Regions from separate parts of the Homo sapiens genome. Here region 1 is linked to region 2. Evidence: promoter capture Hi-C in 16 types of primary human blood cells and fetal thymus (Javierre and others, 2016). All regions are on one chromosome and are shown on one strand. The core of a region is centred on a gene start or on the middle of the fragment in contact, and the rest is flanking DNA. Distances in the headings are between cores, read along the strand shown. Region 1 overlaps DDHD1 (DDHD domain containing 1). Region 2 holds the start of PSMC6 (proteasome 26S subunit, ATPase 6).

Evidence for each region. The method cuts DNA at HindIII sites, captures the fragments that hold promoters and counts their contacts. A CHiCAGO score of 5 or more calls a contact.
Region 1: a fragment that was not itself captured here is called in contact with the fragment with the promoter of PSMC6 in region 2 in 1 of 17 cell types (non-activated CD4 T cells); the score reaches 5.2 in non-activated CD4 T cells.

Annotation. Positions count from the first base shown.
Region 1 is chr14:53,103,342-53,109,155 of GRCh38, forward strand. It overlaps DDHD1 (DDHD domain containing 1), which reads right to left. Exons shown (of 13, transcript NM_001160148.2): 2 at 342-515. Among named protein-coding and RNA genes, the nearest start is that of DDHD1, 47 kb to the right of the region's middle. RefSeq lists an enhancer at 5,675-5,814. The HindIII fragment of the contact is 2,069 bases long and covers 1,773-3,841 here.
Region 2 is chr14:52,702,881-52,708,506 of GRCh38, forward strand. PSMC6 (proteasome 26S subunit, ATPase 6) reads left to right here and starts at 4,320. Exons shown (of 14, transcript NM_002806.5): 1 at 4,320-4,424; 2 at 5,429-5,508; 3 at 5,603-5,626. The coding sequence starts at 4,340. RefSeq lists enhancers at 3,871-3,980, 4,001-4,060, 4,361-4,610, 4,631-4,680. The HindIII fragment of the contact is 4,351 bases long and covers 3,619-5,626 here.

The DNA of each region.
Region 1 (5,814 bases), core at 1,557-4,056, 400 kb after region 2:
GATATAACAACAAGGAATTTTTGGGTTAAGTTCAATTTCCTTTGATAACTAAAAAATTACTAAAAAAGATTAAATAGGGAGTGCATTGTAACAATCTGTACATTTATAGTAAACTGTGTTAATATCATGACACTTACCATACATATTAAAATAAAAATTGAGATAGTTCAGATATTTATAGTAGTTAATTTTTAAATTCTAGAATAATCAAATGTTTAAAAAAATCAAATTTTCTAATTCTAAACCTCCTGAATTATTATGTCAAATTTACAAACCACTCTAAACTTTATCAACAACTTACTTGGTTTGTAGAATATATTAAATGTATCAATTGATCTTACCATCTTTTCCATCTATGGATTTTGACACTTCAATATCGAAATTTTCCTGCATCTGCTGGCCCCTAAAACAATTGAGATGTTCTTGCTCAATTAAATTACTTTCTTCCTCTTCTAGAGGCTGCCAAGTGCCGTCAATAAACCACTGTCCACGCATTACTGGTATTTTATCAGCCTCTGAAAAAGAGAAATCACAGAATTATACACATTTTAAGATTCAACTTCCCCAAAAGAGACACAGTATCTACAATCTTATATTTTGCTACTGCTGTCACAAAAACAGATTTTCATGACCCAATACAATCATCTAAACTTTTATTTATGTTTATTTATTTTGAGATATTTATCTTGCTCTGTTGCCCAGGATAGAGTGCAGTAGTGTGACCACAGCTCACTGCAGCCTTGACCTTCCAGGCTAATTTTTATATTATTCTGGTAGAGATGTGGTTTTGCCGTGTTGCCCAGACTGGTCTGACTGGTCTCAAACTCCTGGGCTCAAGAGATGTGACCACCTTGGCCTCCCAAAGTGCTAGGATTACAGGTATGAGCTGCTGCGCCTGGCCCATTTAAAGTTGTAAAATCCAGATTTTGAGCCAGAGTGTATCATATTCTATGGCACATACTTTTACTTATATTAAATTATTATGCCTAAAAATCACTTTAGCACTAGAAAGATAGATGAGCAGCTATGTATATAATTGAGACTCTGAATAACCAAAATTAGTAGGCTAAGGGTTTGTTAAAACGAGTTTCATGCAAGGCTCTGATGATAGTTCCAATGTCTTAGAAAATATTAATATAAAATCCAGACTAGTGTTTAGAAATAGTGTGTGTGGTAGTAGTGTGTGGCACTTTTTAGAGCTGCCTTGGAGACTAGAGGCTTCTAGTACATATACAGGATAAATGAAACTATTATATTAGTAAATATTTCATCTACTTTAGGGAAAAAAAATCAAGAAAAACTTTCTTGGCTAACTTTTGATGAAACACTATTCCTAGAAACCCAAGACTTTTAGTTGTTATTTAAAATAAACTACAACTGTCAGCTAAACTATCTTGAATTCTTTAAAACAATTTTTTAATAAAGCAAAAATAAAATAAAAATAACAAAACCCTAAAAGTAAAAAGCAAAATGAAACAAATGGATCTAATTATGTAGAATGCTGGTGGTTTAATCATATAAAGAGAAATTATTTCAAGTGAATTTAAAACTCCGTCATTTGTACATACATATTTGGAAATAAAATATGGAGAAAAAGAACTGCAAACATCTTAAACCTTTTGCAATAACCATATTGTTAGTAATACTATTTGTATTACTAATTTGAAACTGTAGGTTAAGATGAATGTATTAATTTTATTAATATCATTAGGAACCTAGATTTTAAGCATAAGACAAAAGAGATACAAATATAAAAATCAAATAAATAAAAAAGCTTGTAATCATAAATTTTAATTAAAAACTTCAGTATGGACTAGTGATGTATTTTCTCTTTGTAAAAATGTCCTAGTAAAGGCCTAGAACTGAAGACAAACCCAGTATAAGTGAACACTCCTAATATAAAGATTGTGAACTATAAATATCATTTCCCATTAAAAGAAACCAAGAGTCCTTGAAAAAAATGGCTAACTTCAGGTTTGAGACAAGAAATATACTAGATGATCTTGAGACATCTTGTCATACCAGATTTGTACTGTGATGTATTTAAAATTTTCTATTATGTGTTTCTATTGCTACTTGCATTCTCCTATATTCTGCTATAGTGATTCTGGTATATTTAGGTGTTTGCTGTGTCATTTGGTACCTAGATACTAAAAAATATTATAACTTCATTGTGAATTATGGCTTTAACCATTATAAATATACTCTGTCATACTGAATAGTTTTTGCCTGGATTCTACTTTGTTCAGCAAAATGGAAACTCCTGATTTCTTATTTTTTCCATTTGCCTGTAATATCATATACATTCCTTTATTTTTGATGGTTGGAATCACTGTTTTATATGTCTCTTGTGTAAGGCATAGAATTGGGTTTTGCTTTATAAAGCCATTTGAACACCTTTTTATTTTAATAGATGAGTTAAGCCCATTTATGTTTACTAATATGATTGACATATTTGAACTCAACTCTATCTTTATAGTTACCATGTTTGTTATTCATACGTATTCTTTTTTTTCCTTTATGTGGTATTTCTGCTATTTTTTTATTTTTTGTACTTTCTTTTGGTAGTTAGGAAAATTTTAATTTTTTGTTCCAGTGGTTCTCTCTCTCTCTCTCCTGTGGTGGTGGTGGTGGTGGTGTGTGTGTATGTGTGTGTGTTTTAGAGTAACCCAAATCGACTTTTTGCCTACTTTACCTTTTATTATCTGGTCAATCCATTTAAAAGGTATTGTATGACTCTCACTTATTACCTATATTGTGGAGAATAATCTTAATTCTTTGTTCACCCACTTATTTTTAGTTTTATTCTTTTTACTTTGTCAGAACATATAAAAATTACATCTATGTCCCCAACACTGTTTTAAGTCTTGGATCTACATTTAAATATAGTAAATTATCACCACATATTTCCTAAATTCTTGTGTGTTCAAACTGTTTATCTGATACTCTAAAGACAGGTTGGCTAGCTTGTGCTTTATTTCTTTGAGTTTTTAAAAATGGTGCTCTACTGTAGCCTTCCTTTGAATATTGTTCTAGGCCAGGTGCAGTGACTCATGCCTGTAATCCCAGCATTCTGAGAGGCCGAGCCAGGTGGATCACTTGAGGCCAGGAGTTCAAGACCAGCCTAGCCAACACAGCAAAACCCCAGCTCTACTAAAAATATAAAAATTAGCTGGGCATGGTGGTGCATGCCTATAATCCCAGCTACAGGAGGCTGAGGCATGAGAATTACTTGAACCTGGGAGGCGGAGGTTGCAGTGAGCCAAGATCATGCCCCTGCACTCCAGCCTGGGTGACAGAGTGAGACCAAAAAAAAATATATTGTTCTTAAGGAATCTGATGTCAGCCTGATTTTATTAATAATATAATCTTTTTTCCCCTCTCAAGAGGCCCAGGAAAAAAGTCTTTAAAATCTAATAGTTTTACTAGGCTATGACTCAGAGCTGTTCTGTATTAATCTGTCCATGATGGGGCCTTTTAATATGTAAAATTTGAAATTTCCTATTATTTCTGAAAAGTGTTGAGTTATGGTTTAATTAGTTCTGTTCTAGTGATTTGCTTTTCTTCTTTAGGGACTCCAATTTTAAGTATGTTAGGTCTTCTTTTGCCTGTATTGAATTTAAACTACTTTTTACATTCTCTTGGTTGTTTTCCTTCCTTTTATCAATGGCTCTTATTAGATTTTTATTTGAATCTATTCTCCACGGGCACCTTGTAATTAATATACAGTAGTCCCCCCTTATCTGTGGGGGATACATTCCAAGACCCCCACTGGATGCCTGAAGCCTTAAATAGTATTGAACCTTATAATGTTTTTGCAATATATACATATTTATGATAAAGCTTACTTTATAAATTAGGCACAATAAGAGATTAACAACAACTAATAATAAAATCCAACAATTATAACAATGTGCTAGCATCACCACTCTTGCGCTTTGGAGCCATTATTAAATAAAATAAAGGTAACTTGAACACAAGCACTTCAAAACCACCACAGTTGATCTGATAACCAAGACAGCTACTAAATGACTAATGGACCAGTGGCATAAACAGCTGCATATCCTAGACAAAGGAATAACTCCCATCCTGGGCAGGATGGAGCAGGATGGCTGGAGACTTCATCACACCAATCAGAAAAGCATCCAATTTAAAACTTGTAATTGTGGCTGGATACAGTGGCTAATGCCTGTAATCCCAGTACTTTGGGAGGCCGAGGCAGGAGGATCACCTGAGGTCAGGAGATTGAGACCAGACTGGCCAACATGGTGAAACCTCATCTTTACTAAAAATACAAAAATTAGCCAGGCATGGTGGTACACACCTATAGTCCCAGCTACTTGGGAGGCTGAGGCAGGAGAATCACTTGAACCCGGGAGGCGGAGGTTGCAGTGAGCTGAGATCGTGCTGAGAGACAGGACTAGCTGGATTTTCTAGGCTGACTAAGAATCCCTGAGCCTAGCTGGGAAGGTGACTGCATCCACCTTTAAACACGGGGCTTGCAACTTAGCTCACACCCGACCAATCAGGTAGTAAAGAGAGCTCACTAAAAAGCTAATTAGGCAAAAACAGGAGGTAAAGAAATAGCCAATCATCTATTGCCTGAGAGCACAGCGGGAGGGACAATGATCAGGATATAAACTCAGGCATTCAAGCCAGCAACAGCTACCCTCTTTGGGTCCCCTCCCTTTGTATGGGAGCTCTGTTTTCACTCTATTAAATCTTGCAACTGCACTCTTTTCTGGTCCGTGTTTGTTACGGCTCGAGCTGAGCTTTCATTCCCCATCCACCACTGCTGTTTGCCACCATCGCAGACCTGCCGCTGACTTCCATCCCTCCGGATCCGGCAGGGTGTCTGCTGTGCTCCTGATCCAGCGAGGCGCCCACTGCTCTTCCCGACTGGGCTAAAGGCTTGCCATTGTTCCTGCACAGCTAAGTGCCCGGGTTCATCCTAATTGAGCTGAACACTAGTCACTGGGTTCCAAGGTTCTCTTCCGTGACCCACGGCTTCTAATACAGCTATAACACTCACTGCATGGCCCAAGATTCCACTCCTTGGAATCCGTGAGGCCAAGAACCCCAGGTCAGAGAACGTGAGACTTGCCACAAGCTTGGAAGCAGCCCGCTGCCATCTTGGGAGCTCTGGGAGCAAGGACCCCTGGTAACAGTGCCATTGCACTCCAGCCTGGGTGACAGAGCAAGACTCTGTCTCAAAAAAACCAAAACCAAAAAACAAAAACAATTTAAAATTGCTTATTTCTGGAATTTTCCATTTAATATTTTTGGACTCTAGTTGACTGTGGCTAACTGAAACTGCAGAAAGCGAAACCACAGCTATAAAGCTGGATTACTGTAGTCTCCCGAGATGGCTTTGCCTTTCTCTTCAATTTCTTTCCTGTGTTCAATCAAATTTTGTTGCACTTCTTCCTTTTTCACTTCTTTTCATGTCAGAGTTTAGATTTCTGCTTCTAAGTTTGTGGTTTTTGTAGTATGTTCACAGATTTGTTTGAGAATATTTTATTTGGTTGGAGCACTGAGATGCCCTTTCCCTTTGCATTTGCTTTTTTGGGGAGAAGTTTTATCAACTGAAACACTTTCTTTCAAATTTTTATATTCCTCTTAAAGTAGCTTTGTGTAGCATTTGATTCATTTCTATTCTTGAGCATAGGGTTCTTGGGTTCTTAGTTTAAGAGCATTCACTTCTGCAGATTAGTAAAGAGGAGCGCCTATAATGGACGGTGTTACGGTGGAGTTGTTGGGTGGGGGTTGGGTTGCCGTGCCTTGTTTCTCTTTCATTTCTCTAGAAGCCTCAAT
Region 2 (5,626 bases), core at 3,070-5,569:
GCCATTCTCCTGCCTCAGCCTCCAGAGTAGCTGGGACTACAGGCGCCCGCTATCACACCCGGCTAATTTTTTTGTATTTTTTAGTAGAGACGGGGTTTCACCACGTTAGCCAGGATGGTCTTGATCTCCTGACCTTGTGATCCACCCGCCTCAGCCTCCCAAAGTGCTAGGATTATAGGTGTGAGCCACTGCGCCTGGCCTAATTTAAGTGCATTTTCATAGGTATTTGGAAGTAGACATTTGGGATGAAAAATTTCTAAAAACTTAAGTGTTGTGGCCAATGTGGGAGCAAAAGTAGTTGCTACTTGCCTATTTGACACTGTTTCCCAATTTTTCTCTTAAAAATAAATCTGTTCTTGTTGTATTTGTTATCGATCACTGTGTAACAAATTACCCCAAAACTAAGTGGCTTCAAACAACAAACATTTATCATCTCATGGTTTTTAGGGACCAGCAATTCAGGAGCAGCTGAACTGAGTTGTGTGACTCAGTCTCTCATGGTGTTGCAATCAATACTAGGGCTGCAGTAATAAAGGCTTGCCTAGAGCCGGAGGATCTCTGCCAGGAACTGCTCACTCATATGGCTGTTGGCAGGAGGCCTTAAGTTCCTGGATGGCTGTTCCTTGCTATGTAGGTCTCTCCATAGATCTGTTGATGTGTCCTCATGCCATGACAACTGGCTCTCCCACAGGGAGTTATCCAAGCGAGAGTCAAAAGGAAGGCTCAACACTTTTTGTGATCTAGTCTCCATCGTTGCGCACTGTCACTTCCACTTTATTTATCAAGAGCAAGTCACTAGGTCCAAGGAAGGGGAATTATGCTCCACCTCTTGAAGTGGAAAGTGTCAAATAATTTGTGTACATATTTTAAAATGACCACACTCATCTGTGCCAAGTTATAGGAAAATAGATTGAGAAACTATCCTTACATGATTTTTGAAGGTCTACATCAATCTCATTACCGTTTGTTATGACATCACTTTTAATGACTCCGAAATAAACTAAGATATGCCCTACCTTCTTTTATCTCTTCCACCCTATATGTTCTAATTTTCATTTTTTGGTCACATTTGTATTTTTCTGTTTTCACTTTATGATATTTTAAGTTCCTTGAGTACTGGTCACATTTCTTAGCCTCTTTATAACTCTGCTTACCTATCTTAGTGCCTGAGATATTCATTCATTCAATATACATATATCTCTTTTATTTCAGACACTGTGCTAGACACTGGGGATCCAATCAGGGGAAATAAATAGTCATAGTCCTTGTTTTCCGAGGGGTTACAGTCCACTGCAGAGAAAAGACTCTAAACATTTAATCACGTTTAAGAATATATAATTACAAGTTGAGCTACGTTTTCAGATGGAGAGGAATACAGTCTTATAGGCATGTATAAAAACGTAACGGCCAGGCGCGGTGGCTCACACCTGTAATCCCAGCACTTTGGGAGGCTAAGGCGGGTGGATCACCTGAGCTCAGGAATTTAAGACCAGCCTGACCAACATGGTGAAACCCCATCTCTACCAAAAATACAAAAATTAGTCGGGTGTGGTGGCGCATACCTGTAGTCCCAGCTACTCTGGAAGCTGAAGCAGGAGAATCCCTTGATCCCGGGAGGCGGAGGTTGCAGCAAGCCGAGATCGCACCACTGCACTCCAGCCTGGGCGACAGAGCGAGACTCCTGCTCAAAACAAAAAACAAACAAACAAACAAAAAAGTAACAGGGCTAGTGTAGGCATGGGGAAAATAGAAGATTCTTCTGAAGTTGAAATGCTGCCAGATGGGTAAAAGAAAAAGAACAAGGGTTAAGGGACTTTAAAATATTGATGTGATTAATGTTAAAATAACCTATCAGTATGTGCTCATAAATATTTTAAATTGAGCCATACTGAGCTTTCTTTCTCTGCCTTGTCCTCTCTTCTTTACTTCTTGATGTCAGAGGTGACATGTTTTGGTATGGATGGACTAGTTTGACCAGAGTAGTTGCAACTGAGTGGGAGAAGGGACTATCCCTGCCCCATACAGCTTCCTTGTTCATTGTATACTGCAAGAACCCAGTCACATTTAGAAAAATTGGCCGAACGCGGTGGCTCATGCCTGTAATCCCAGCACTTTGGGAGGCCGAGGCGGGCGGATCACGAGGTCAGGAGATCGAGACCAGCCTGACCAACATGGTGAAACCCTGTCTCTACTAAAAATACAAAAATTAGCTGGGCGTGGTGGTGTGCGCCTGTAATCCCAGCTGTTCGGGAGGCTGAGGCAGGAGAATCACTTGAACCCGGGAGGTGGAGGTTGCAGTGAGCCGAGATCGCGCCACTGCACTCCAGCCTGGCGACAGAGCAAGACTCCAACTCAAAAAAAAAAAAAAAAAAAAAAAAAAAAAAGAAAAATAGAATGGAATATTCACACAATACCCATGAGAATTGTTCCTAATAAATTTGAAGGCATCCTTTATGTGACTTTGGGTCATTAATTTACAAAAATTTGTACTTTATTTGTATATTTAGGATGTATATATTTAAACTCAAACATTCATGGCCATTGGATAAGGTGAGACCAAATGGAATCTATTTGGAGAATTTTACTCATGTTTTTTGGACAACAATTAATTGTCCCCAGGAACAATGATAGCAAGAGGTATAGCAATGAGGACCTGTAATGCAAAAATTGGAGTCATTACTACCCTTAAAATAAATATCTATTCAAAAGAACACTATTGAGTACATGCCATGTGGCAGATGTTGTGTTTAGGCACATTATCCTATTTAATACTCATGACAACCCCATTAGATAAGTGCAATTATTATGATCATTTTACAGAGATATTGAGGGAGTATGTAATTTTCCCCAAATCACAAAAATCTGAAAGTTGGCCAGGCGTCGTGGCTCACGCCTGTAATCCCAACACTTTGGGAGGCTGAGGCGGGCGGATCACTTGAGGTCAGTAGTTGGAGACCAGCCTGGCCAACATGGTGAAACCCCATTCCTACTGAAAATACAAAAATGAGCCGGGCGTGGTGGCGGGCGCCTGTAATCCCAGCTTCTCAGGAGGGTGAGGCACGACAATCGCTTGAACCCGGGAGGCAGAGGTTGCAGTGAGCCAAGATCGCACCACTACACTGCAGCCTGGGTGACAGAGTGAGACACAGACTCAAAAAAAAAAAAAAAAAAAAAAAAATCTGGCCGGGCGCAGTGCCTCACACCTGTAATCCTAGCACTTTGGGAGGCTGAGGAGGGTGGATCACCTGAAGTCAGCAGTTCGAGACCAGCATGGCCAACATGGCGAAACCCCGTCTCTACTAAAAATACAAAAATTAGCCGGTTGTGGTGGCGCACACCTGTAATGCCAGCTACTCCGGAGGCTGAGGAAGGAGAATTGCTTGAACCCGGGAGGTGGAGGTTGCAGTGAGCTGAGATCGCGTCACCGCTCCAGCCTGTGCGGCAGGAGCAAGACTCCATCTCAAAAGTAAATAAATAAATACATAAATCTGAAGGTTCTATCAGACTTCAAAGTTCCTGCCTCAGCCTACTTCAGCATCTTTATCTTGTACCCCACATCTCTACAACCCACCCCCTACTGGTCTCATTGGCCTCCTTTCTGTTCCTGGAAGTGAGTCAAGCTTTCTACCCACAACCCCCACCCCACTCCACTCCAGGACTTGCACTGTTTGTTTAGGTTTTCTTCAGTTGTTGCAAGGCTGGCTCCTTCTCATCTCAGATATCTGTTCTAGATTAATTCTTCCCACCATACTTCTCACCGTGTTTTAATTCCTTCACAGTATTTGTTAAACTCTGAAGTTTTTTTTATTATTATTTCCTATCAAATGATAAGCAGATCTACCTTTAATACCTCATTCACTGACTGAATGGATGAATAAAACTGTCTACTTCTCCAGCACGTGGAGGTCTTGGACAGTACTGTGTTATAACAAAGGCCATCTGTGTTGTGTCGACAGGCCATCGGAACTCCTTTGAGGTATTACACATTTCCTACTTCACTTCCATCTCAGTTTATTACAGAGCCTTTTATACTTCCGGGACAGCAGTGACTTAATACTGAGGCCTCTCAGGGGAAGACCGGGATAACTGAGTCCTGCTTTACCTATCTCGGCTTGCAAGAAACGGTATAGGTGGAGGCCTCTTTCAGTGTATGCCGGCGCTCTAGGTGAACCGAGACATAGAGGTGGAAGTGGAGTAGAAAGACGGGGCCAACCGGAAGGGGAGGGCTCATGGGCGAACCCACCCCTCCAGGCAGGGTTTCGCCCCTCGCCCCGCCCCTTCCCCCGCCCGGACGGCCATGGCCATTCCCGGCATCCCCTATGAGAGACGGCTTCTCATCATGGCGGACCCTAGAGATAAGGCGCTTCAGGACTACCGCAAGAAGTTGCTTGAACACAAGGAGATCGACGGCCGTCTTAAGGAGTGTGAGTGCACCTTTCTTTCCATTTAATCAAGTGCCTCGACTCGCTTCTGCCTCTGACAAAGCAGAAGCCTTTCGCCGAGCCCGGCAACCGAGCCTTAGAGATGACCAGGCCTAGGGCCAGGGACAAGGCGCTTTGTCATCCGGCCCTGAGCTTGTGGAGCAGCACTCCTTCGGGTGTAGAAATGGCCCAGTCCAGCCCGGGTGACAGAACATCGGCGGCCTTGAGGTGAAAATGAAAAAGAAGTAGAGGAGGAGTGGGGAAGTGGGCCGAGGATGTTTCCCAGGTTAGGGTGCAAGAAGGGCAGTCTTGGTGGAGTCCCGGGACTTGGAGAGGGGAAGGCGCTTGAGTCAAGTAAGCTCAAACAAGAGATGAGACTCAGGGAGTCGGCTTGTTCTTGGAGTCGAAAGACGGCCGCGGAGCTTAAGAGAGAAGTGTTCCAGTTGTCATAATAACCCATATCGTCTTGTGTTTCGTGTTGTACTGTATCAGGCATACAAATTTCCCTTACCTCCTGAGTGCTTAACTTTTTTTTCCAGTGCATTTTCATTGAAAAGCATGAGTAGTTTAATTAAATGGAGGACCATAATTACATGATTCTGTGGAGAACTGCATTTGTTGACTTTATTTAGGGTAGAATGTCAGAGAACAATCCACGTGGGTAGGTGAAGAGGTGAGGAAGGGTCTAAGTGATTATCATTCGGATTTGTAGTCGCAAATCCTAAGTGTCAGGGTGTCAATATCTTCTAAGACTATAACTTAAGATGTGCTTAAACAAGTATTGCCGATCAACAAAGTAAAAGTATGGTGCTTTCTCTGTAACATTTTGTTGTTATACATGCCACCTACTCATTACAAACAGCATTATTTCTTTTATGGTTTGAAACAGTGGATGTGAAACTTAGGTAAAGTGAAGTAGACTTACGTAAACAGTAAAGTGAGACGTAGCGACTTAAACACACTAAGATTACTGTTCAATTAAAAATGTTCAAATTGTATTATTTCAGTAAGGGAACAATTAAAAGAACTTACCAAGCAGTATGAAAAGTCTGAAAATGATCTGAAGGCCCTACAGAGTGTTGGGCAGGTAGGTGATGGAGTTTGGGGAATAGGGGGTGATGGTAATTTGCTTTTTTATTTAGCTGTTGCCAAAAAGTAATGCTTTTTATTTTCTTCCTTAGATCGTGGGTGAAGTGCTTAAACAG